Regions from separate parts of the Homo sapiens genome. Here all the other regions are linked to region 1. Evidence: promoter capture Hi-C in human tissues and cell types (Jung and others, 2019). All regions are on one chromosome and are shown on one strand. Each heading gives the region's core, a stretch centred on a gene start or on the middle of the fragment in contact. The rest is flanking DNA. Distances are from core to core; before and after follow the strand shown.

Region 1 (3,051 bases), core at 286-2,785:
CTCTCATCTGGTCCAAGAAGACCCAGGCTCTGCACCAGCAAAAAGAGACGGCACCCTCGGACAGCAGACACAACTCCTTTAGTCCACGTTTTCAAAGTCGAGGTGCAGGGAAAACCCAGTGTGAACGGACTGCTCCTCGGGCTTTCCTTTAATCGGGCCGTTTCCAAAGTGGCAAAAAATTCACACAGGACCCAAGCTAGCTAGAGGCCTCCTGAGGGGTTCCCCAGGGCATCAGTGCAAGAAGCCCTGAAAGACAAAGCCAAATGACACAGAGTAGCAAAATGTGAACAAGGAATCAAAGAGAAGAGATAAGAAGGAGTAACAAGAAGAAGAATGAACTACAAAGACTGGGAGCGGGGGTGGGGGGTGCTGGCAAACGCATTTGTGATTTTCTTTTCCCCCCAGTGAAATGTCAGTTTTGAAAGCAGCTTCGGAAAATGTAACCAGCTTCTCACATCCCCCAAAAGAAGATGGGAGGAGGCTGTTAGCTCTTACTTCGAAGCCCGGCATCAGGAAGGGGCCCGTCCCGTCCACGTTTCCACGAGGAGCTCACCCTGCGGCTCCCACCGTCCCCGCATGGGCCCTCTCCCCAGATCCTGAAGTTTCCCATTCGGGGGTCCTGAACGCCACACCTCGCACAGCGGTGGAACTCGGTACTCGCGGGCGCCCCAGACCAGCAAACACTTTCCAACCGTCCTGAGCTATCCAGGGGGTCCCCAGAGGGATCCCGGGCCGCCCACGCCCCACCCTCCTCCCTGCAGAGGCGGCCACGCCCGCCCCCGAGACGCCCACCTCTCCCGCACCCCGGACCTCCCTCCCCCACGCTTAAGCCCACCACGCCTGGCGTCCTCCAAATTCCCCTTCCACTCAGAGCCCCCCACTTCCTGCTCACCCACCCCTCCCAAATCTCAGGCCCTTCACTCCCCATTTCGCGCTCCCTTGCTCACTCTGGGCACCTTGCCCCTCCGGCCACCACGCACGCCCTCTTTTCTCTGTCTGTCCCCTGGCACCGGCCCTCCACGGTCGCTCCCTGCAGGCCACCGGCTCAGTCCCGGGGACCCCACGCCAGGCCCCCGCGCTCAGGGCCCCTCCCCGCCGGCCCCCGCCCCGGGCCGGCCTCGTGAGCAGCCCCGGCCCTGCGCCTGCCCCGGGGCCCCGTACTCACGGCTGTAGAGGGCGATGCCCGCCGAGTCCGGGCCGGCGCGCACCTCGAGGCGCAGCGCCTGCTGCTCCGCGTGCCGCTGGATCTCGCCGTTCGCGTCGCCGATGGTGAGGAGGCGGGCGCCGGGGAACACCGACACGGTAGCGCAGGGCCCCGCGCCGCCCGGGACCGCCGACCCCGCGCCGCCCGCGCCCGGCCCCACCGCCGCCGCCGCCGCTGCCATCTTAGATCCGGCTCCAGGCCCCGCCGCCGCCGCCGCTGCGCCCGGGCCCAGGCCGCCGCCGCTGCCGCCGCCGCCGCCGCCGCCGCCGCCGCCGCCGCCGCCGCCGCCGCCGCTGCCGCTACCGCCGCCGCAGCCGCCGTGCAGGCCGAGGCCGAGCCGGGCAGCGCCGCCTGCCGGCCACGCGCCGCCTCGCCGCCGCCGCCGCCACCGTCGCCGCGGCCCGGCCCCGTGGCGCAGCGCCCTCTGCCGGCCGTCCTGGGCGCGGGGAGCTAGCGAGCGAACGAGAGGGCACCCCGTGGGGCGGGACCGGCTACGCCCCGCCCCGCGAGAACGGTCGCCGCTTTGTGAGGTGGCTCCACCGCCCGGGAACTGCGGGGCGGGAGGGTACGTCGGGGGCGGTGCTCGGGCGCGCGGGCACGCCCCTCGGAGGCCTGGGCCCCGCCCCCAGGCCGGCGCCTCATTAACGGCTGCTTTCGAGTGAGGCGGTGCGGGGACGGCGGGGGCGGTGCTCGGCCGCGTGGACACGCCCTGTACCCCGCCCCACACAAGCAGCCGCGCGTCGTGATGCGGCTTCCCTGCCCCGACCTGGACACGCCCCTGAGACTGGGCCCCACCCCCCCGGGCCCGCCCGGCTTTGTGAGGCAGCCCTCAGGGAGGCGTGGCCCAGCCGCGACGAGGCCCCGCCCCCGTGCCTGCCCGCGCCCTCCCACCCGGACTCGCTTTGTCAGCCGCCCCGCTCTGGGGAATGGGCGGGGGAAAGGGCGTGGCCAGCGCCCGGGCCTCGCCCCCAACCCTTCCCCCCACCGCCCCCGCACCGACGATTTCCGATGAGCCCTGGCCTCCAGGAGCAACCTGAGCCCGGTTGAAAGGACCCCTCCCCGACATTCGACCGCTCCTCCTCCCTTCCCCATCATCTCTGCCCACATTGCCTTCTTAATCCTTAATGTTTGACTGTCTCCTTTCGCACAAGATATCCTTTGACCCCCTCCTCTCTCAGCCCCTCCTCCAACGATGCTGAGTCCAGCCTGGCCCGGCGCAGGGCCCCTCTCCCGCCACACAAACCCGTCTTCTCTCTGCATCCCCCTTCATTTTGGGTGGCCCCATCTCTTTTGGGCGACCCAGTGAGCTTGGGCCACTTCCTAGCACTCCAGCTTTAACTCTTCCCTAGACCTCATTTACGCCTCATTCCTTTTTTTTTTTTTTTTTTTTCTTTGAGACGGAGTCTCGCTCTGTCTCCCAGGCTGGAGTGCAATGGCTCGATCTCAGCTCACCGCAACCTCCGCCTCCCGGGTTCAAGTGATTCTCCTGCCTCAGCCTCCCGAGTAGCTGGGACTACAGGCATGCTCTACCACGCCCAGCTAATTTTTTATTTTTAGTAGAGACGAGGTTTCACCATGTTGGTCAGGCTGGTCTTGAACTCCTGACTTCAGGTGATCCGCCCGCCTCGGCATCCCAAAGTGCTGGGCCTACAGGCATGAGCCACCGCGCCCGGCCCCTTTTGTTTTTTGAGACAGGGTCTCACTGTGTTGCCCAGGCTAGAGTGCAGTGGTGCCATCATAGCTTACTGCAGCCTCAACCTCCTGGGCTCAAGCAACCCCCTGCCTCGGCCTCCCAAAGTGCTGGGATTATAGGTGTGAGCCACTGCGAGGGGCCCTCATTCTCCTTC
Region 2 (3,051 bases), core at 1-2,500, 580 kb after region 1:
AGCGAGGTCTCCAGGCCACCGCGCTCCGGCCGAGGGCAGTTGGTGCTGCAATTCAGCCACAGCGAGCCCCCGCGCTCCACGAACGCCACGCGAGGCTGCAGGTCCGCCCAGAAGGGCTCCTGCGAGACCGCTGCCCAGGGAAACGCGGGCTGAGCCTGGGGAGCCAACTCCCTGACATCTTAGCGCCCCTATGTCGAGTCAAGGGTTCTCAGAGGGCGGGGAGGAGGAGGAGAGGCTGCAGCCAGGGAAAGAACCCAGGCGTCCCGCGTCCTGCCCAGGCCTCCGGTTTAAAGGCGCACTCCCAGAGTCTAAACCTCGAGGGTGTCTCTGGGACGTGGTAGCAGAGAGCCATGGTCTCCAAAGCGCCGATGGAGCGGCGGGAAAGCATGGGGGGAGGGCGTAGAGGAGAGGAAAGGTGGGTTCTTGGATGAACACAGCAAGGCTGAGAGAAGGGGACCCGGGATGGGGGATGGGGGATGAACCAGTTCTCAGGGTCCTGGCAGAATGCCGGGATACGAGGAGAGTGCGTTTGCGGCAAGGGCAAAGGAGAGACGAGGCTGGGTCAAGGATCAGGAAGGACCCTACACCCGGTGAAGAACACGGAGCCGGGACGCAAGGCTGGGCTCATGGAAGGAACCGCGGGAACAGCTGAGGGACCCGGTTGCCAGGGCTCTGGGTGGAGCGGGAACAGCGCCTCTGAGTCAGGGTAGTTGGAGAGATGGAGTCTTCGCGGACCGCGAGTGGGGAAGATGCCAGTCCGTGGACCATGGTGCACAGCACAGCGTAAGGAGGTACCCGGGGAGCGGACAGGAGAGACACTGGGTCTCCAGGGCGAAGGGTTGGGTGCGGAAGAACACCTAGGATCTCGAAGCGGGTAGGGGCTATCGAGGAGTCAGGAAGCTGGGGCTCGGGTGTGTGTTGGGGAGGAGGGGGAAGGGGAGAAGACTCAGGCTCGAGGTGGGGGCAGAGGCGTGGGAGCGAGGCGAGGGCAGAGCTGGGAGGGACAGGAGGCCGTTTCTCAGGTCCAGGGACTCCGCCCCCGCCCTGTCCACCCCGAACCAGAGCGGGGCTCTTACCTGAGAGGCCGAAGAGCCCCAGGCCCAGAGCAGCCCAGAGGCCGAGTAGCGCCCGGCGCAGCCCTGGCGAAGGCCCTGGCATCGCCGCGGCGGGGAAAGCACAGGAGGCGAGGAGAGCGCGAGCCGAGGAGCTGGGCTAGAGGACGGCTCCGCGCGGCGCGGCGGGTGGGGTGTGGGGGAGGCAGAGTTGCGCTTGGGGATTGGTTTAACGTTGGTAACTTGGTTTCCAAGGAGGGGGCGGCGGCAGAGGCGGCGGGGGGGCGGGAGGCGAGCGTGCGCTAAGCTCCTGGCCTTGGTGAAGGCGAGCTGGCAGGAGTGAGCGACCCCTGGGGTCTACGTGGAGGCCGGCATGATGGCCCAGGGCCTTCTGGGGGCGACCACGCTCTCTCGCGTCATCCCCGGCCGCGACTCTGGGATCGGGGGATGCTGGGTTGCCCTTCCCAAACCCCTACCCCAGCCCTGGCTGAGATGCCATGATAATAAGCTGGACTCCGAGCCCCGCCCCCACATTTAGCTCCTCCCACCAGCGCCCCTTAGGGCGGGGATACATTTGGGGACTAAGAGAGATTTGGGAGGCACTGGATGGGGAAAGGACAGTTCTAGGGGAGGGTGTGGGGATGCCTCTCTCACTGATCCTTCTCCTTTTGACCCCGCGGAGCCATACCTCTAAGCACCCCTCCGGGTCAGCTCCCGCACGCGACGGAGGGGGCGGGACGAAAGTGCCAGCGAGCCGAGGACACGTGTGCGTGCGCGCAGCGTTCGCGGGCGTCTAAATTAGAATCCGCTCGGCTCCGGGTCTGTATTTACCCAGGGTGCAGCGGGCACGTGTCTACTCAGCGTGTGTGAGCTCGAGCCACCCTGGAGCGCCCCTGAGTCCGCCTTCTGCTCGGTGGGTGGGGGCCCTGACATCCACGCGAGAACAAGGGACCGAGGGTGATGCTTTTGACTCCGCTTCCGGGCCCCAAGCTTTGACACCCCCCACCCCCAACTCCATGCGCTCATCTGGCTGGGTGACTACCAGAACATCGTCAGAATTCGAGTTTGTGATATTCCCTGTGGACCATCTGATCACCCCTTCCCGGCTGCCACCACATGGATACCTCTTCTGCGTATCCACGTCCCTCAATATGTCCGTGGGACCCTCCCCTCCCCACCATTCGTGGTCTCACTCCAGCGTGGTAAGTTATTTTGGAGATGAGTTCTCGCTCCACAGTTGTTTGGCCTCCAGGAAAGCACAGGGTCTGAAGGTGGGGCTGGGATAGGAAACTTAACATCCAATCAGAGCTGCCGCGTGGTGGCGGCGGCGCCAATCAGGAAAGCCATACCATGAACCCCACCCCGCCCCTGCCCGTGGCTCTCCCCGGCCCGCGCTGATCCCACTCGATAAGGCCAGCAGAAGGAGAGGTTTCTGTGACACCCGCTGGGGATACACAGAGTCTGGGGCTTCGGGACCCCAGGTGGGCCCTGAGTGAGGAAACCTCAGGTGCCCTCAGGGAGACAAGGAACTTGGAGAAAGTGATCGCAAAAACAACAACAACAACAAAAACAAACCAGTTCCTCCGAAGAAGGGCAGTAATGCGGACCCTTAGGTCACAGGACAGAGGCTGGTTAAGGAAGCCTTTATTGATTCCAGAGGGTTCCCCCGCCAATATTTATTTTTATTTTTATTTTATTTTTGGAGACAGGGTCGTGCTCTGTCCCCCAGGCTGGAGTGCAGTGGCACGATCAAGGCTCACTGCAACCTCGACTTTCAGGGCTCAAAGGATCCTCCCAACTCAGCCTCCCGGGTAGCTGGGACCACAGGTGCGGGCCACCACACCAGGCTAATTTGTGTATTTTTTGCATAGACGGGGTCTCACTATGTTGTCCAGGCTGGTCTCGAACTCCTGGGCTCAAGCGATTCTCCTGCCTCGGCCTCCCAAAGTGCTGGGATTACAGGCGTCAGCCACCATGTATGGCCATTTCCCCAGATTGT
Region 3 (3,051 bases), core at 304-2,803, 510 kb before region 1:
TCACCAGGCTGGAGTGCAGTGGCACAATATCGGCTCACTGAAACCTCCGGCTCCTGGGTTCAAGCGATTCTCCTGCAGCCTCCCAAGTAGCTGGGATTACAGGCATGCAGCACCACGCCCATCTAATTTTTGTATTTTTGGTAGAGATGGGGTTTTACCATGTTGGCCAGGATGGTCTTGATCTCTTGACCTCGTGATCTGCCCACCTCGGCCTCCCAAAGTGCTGGGATTACAGGCGTGAGCCACCGCGCCCGGCCTACGCCTGGCTAATTTTTGTATTTTTAGTAGAGACGTGGTTTCGCCATGTTGCCCAGGCTGGTCTCGAACTCCTGACCTCATGATCCGCCTGTCTCGGCCTCCCAAAGTGTTGGGATTACAGGTATGAGCCACCGCGCCCAGCCAATTATTATTATTTTTTGAGATGCAGTCTCACTCTGTTGCCCAGGCTGGAGTTGCAGTGGCATGATCTTGGCTCACTGCAATCTTCATCTCCCAGACTGAAGCAGTTCTCATGCCTCAGCCTCCTGAGTAGCTGGGATTACAGGCACACGCCACCACACCTGGCTAATTTTTGTATTTTTAGTAGAGATGGGATTTCACCATGTTGGCCAGGCTGGTCTCAAACTCCTGACCTCAAGTGATTTGCCCACGTCGGCCTCCCAAAGTGCTGGGATTATAGGCGTGAGCCACCGGGCCCAGCCCAAGAGAATAAAAATGTGGGTGGTAAAAATTTTTTTCCCAAAAATTCGTAAATGAAAATCTCACATATTATGCATACTGCCCAGGAGCATGGCCTAGCACTGTGCAAACACTCAACTGCTGGTCGTTGCAAGGATTATTATTGGCCGGCTTCAGTGGCTCGTGCTGGTATTCCCAGCACATTGGGAGATGGAGGCTGGAGGATTGCTTAAGTCCGGGATTTCAAGACCAGCCTGGACAACATAGTGGGATCCCATCTCTACAAAGAATTTTAAAAATTAGCCAGGTGCAGTGGGAAGATTGCTTCAGTCCAGAGGCTGCAGTGAGCTATGATTGTGCCACTGCACTCCAGCCTGGGTGACAGAGCAACACCCTGAGACAGAGAGAGAGAGGGGGAAGGAGGGAAGGAGGGAAGGAAGGAAGGAAGGAAGGAAGGAAGGAAGGAAGGAAGGAAGGAAGGAAAGGAGAGAGAGAGAGAGAGAGAGAGAGAGAGAGAGAGAAAATAATTTTTATTTATTTCCAGGCTGGGAAGAGATGCTGATTTCTGCGATAAAATCAGTAGGTACATTTTTTGGAATGTTCGCTATGTGCCAGGCTAGATTTTACAGATGAGAAGTCTGAAGCTCAGGTAAGGTAAGTCACCTGTCCAGGGCCACAAAGAAAAAAAAAACGTGTGTCTGAAGCCAGAACGGGAGCTGTTGCGGCCCAACTCCCTCCCCTGCCCCCAAGCGGCCTCTGGGCTCGGGAAGGGCCCCTGCCTCCTCCCGCCAGGCACTTATCTCTACCCAGGCTGAGTGCTGGCCCCGCCCCCTCGGGGATCTGCCACTTAGAGGCGCCTGGTCGGGAAGGGCCTGGTCAGCTGCGTCCGGCGGAGGCAGCTGCTGACCCAGCTGTGGACTGTGCCGGGGGCGGGGGACGGAGGGGCAGGAGCCCTGGGCTCCCCGTGGCGGGGGCTGTATCATGGACCACCTCGGGGCGTCCCTCTGGCCCCAGGTCGGCTCCCTTTGTCTCCTGCTCGCTGGGGCCGCCTGGGCGCCCCCGCCTAACCTCCCGGACCCCAAGTTCGAGAGCAAAGGTAAGGATGAGCTGCGTGTGGACCCCTACGCTGGAGCCTGCAGGACCATGCTGGGGCCTGAACTCCCAGCCTAGGTCCTGGGGGCCATGCCTGTTTCTGGACTTCCTGACCGGGTCCTGGGGGCCAAGCTGGCATCTGAACCCTTAGACTGGGTCCTGGATGGGTGGGGGGCGGGGTGGGGTATGTTAGGATCCAAGACTCCTGATCGCGTCCCGGGCAAGAGCTAGAGTGGGCTTAACATTCCCGTTTTACCTTTTCAGGGAGTCTGGGACATGCTAAATCCTAAGGGGGCTGACTTGGTGCTAAGGTCCCTGGGGGGTGGGGACCAAGCCGACCCTCCCTAGGGGAGGGAGGGTAAAGCCCGGGTCCGAGTTAGAGGGGCCAAGCCACAGGCTACTGTAAACACGGTTTGTGTGAGGGCGCCAGATCACTTGCCCGGCCCGGTGGAGGGAGGGAGGCGGGGGGCACGGTTGGCGCTATCGGTTGGCGGGGAGCCTGCCGGGGCCGATAGGGGGCCCGCCTCTCCGCACACACCCCCAGCCGCGCGCGTGTCCTAGGCTGGGGCGGGGCTGGCAGTCCCGAGCTCGAGGTCTTGAACGCCGCGCCCAGCTCAGCTGGCCGCTGGGTGGGCAGGTGTGCGCCAGTGGTGACGGCGGGGGACAGTAAGGCGAGAAACTTGCCCCTGGGAATTAGGGGGGCACCACCTCTGCGGACCCCTCCAAGGGACCCGCTTGGGAAGATGGCAGGGCGGGGCTTTTTTCTTATCGGGTCCGCCCAGGCTGCGGGAGGGAAGAGGAGGGGGCTGTCTCCCGAGGATAGAGCTCAGACCCCCATGCCCTTCCTTTGTCGCCCCTCCCCAGCGGCCTTGCTGGCGGCCCGGGGGCCCGAAGAGCTTCTGTGCTTCACCGAGCGGTTGGAGGACTTGGTGTGTTTCTGGGAGGAAGCGGCGAGCGCTGGGGTGGGCCCGGGCAACTACAGCTTCTCCTACCAGCTCGAGTGAGTCCGATCCGGCGGGTGCCTCCAAGGGCGGAGGGAGGGGGTGGGGCAGAGCTCCCTGGAGGTCGTAGCCTCGTATGTCCCCTGCTGTTTGAGGCCCGACGGCGCCTCCAGTCGTGGTCACTGGAGGGAAACCTGCGGGTCCAGGGCTGGCACGCCCTCTATGGGCCGGGGCGCGAACACTCCCGCGATCACCGCTGGAACGCGACCCCAAACATCAGGCTGGGATAACAACGCCTCCAAATCGAGGGTAAGGCGTTACTACGTCGGGGCTGGGACGC

Evidence for each region. Contacts are between HindIII fragments. The study calls those that stand out against the background at their distance.
Region 2: a contact is called between the fragment with the promoter of ICAM5 here and the fragment with the promoter of CARM1 in region 1, in 1 of the 25 tissues and cell types used here (spleen).
Region 3: the fragment with the promoter of EPOR here is called in contact with the fragment with the promoter of CARM1 in region 1 in 1 of the 25 tissues and cell types used here (dorsolateral prefrontal cortex).

What each region holds. Positions count from the first base shown.
Region 1 is chr19:10,870,037-10,873,087 of GRCh38, reverse strand. It overlaps CARM1 (coactivator associated arginine methyltransferase 1), which reads right to left and starts at 1,535. Exons shown (of 16, transcript NM_199141.2): 1 at 1,166-1,535. The coding sequence starts at 1,385. RefSeq lists an enhancer at 86-265 and silencers at 1,006-1,215, 1,306-1,355, 1,486-2,275. The HindIII fragment of the contact is 23,799 bases long and covers 1-3,051 here.
Region 2 is chr19:10,288,151-10,291,201 of GRCh38, reverse strand. ICAM5 (intercellular adhesion molecule 5) reads right to left here and starts at 1,250. Exons shown (of 11, transcript NM_003259.4): 1 at 1,077-1,250; 2 at 1-130. The coding sequence starts at 1,158. It overlaps ICAM4-AS1 (ICAM4 antisense RNA 1), which reads left to right and starts at 2,183. Exons shown (of 1, transcript NR_186335.1): 1 at 2,183-3,051. ICAM4 (intercellular adhesion molecule 4 (Landsteiner-Wiener blood group)) reads right to left here. Exons shown (of 3, transcript NM_001544.5): 3 at 2,682-3,051. RefSeq lists a silencer at 2,326-2,395. The HindIII fragment of the contact is 10,372 bases long and covers 1-3,051 here.
Region 3 is chr19:11,382,816-11,385,866 of GRCh38, reverse strand. EPOR (erythropoietin receptor) reads left to right here and starts at 1,553. Exons shown (of 8, transcript NM_000121.4): 1 at 1,553-1,774; 2 at 2,635-2,770. The coding sequence starts at 1,660. RefSeq lists a silencer at 2,254-2,313. The HindIII fragment of the contact is 19,405 bases long and covers 1-3,051 here.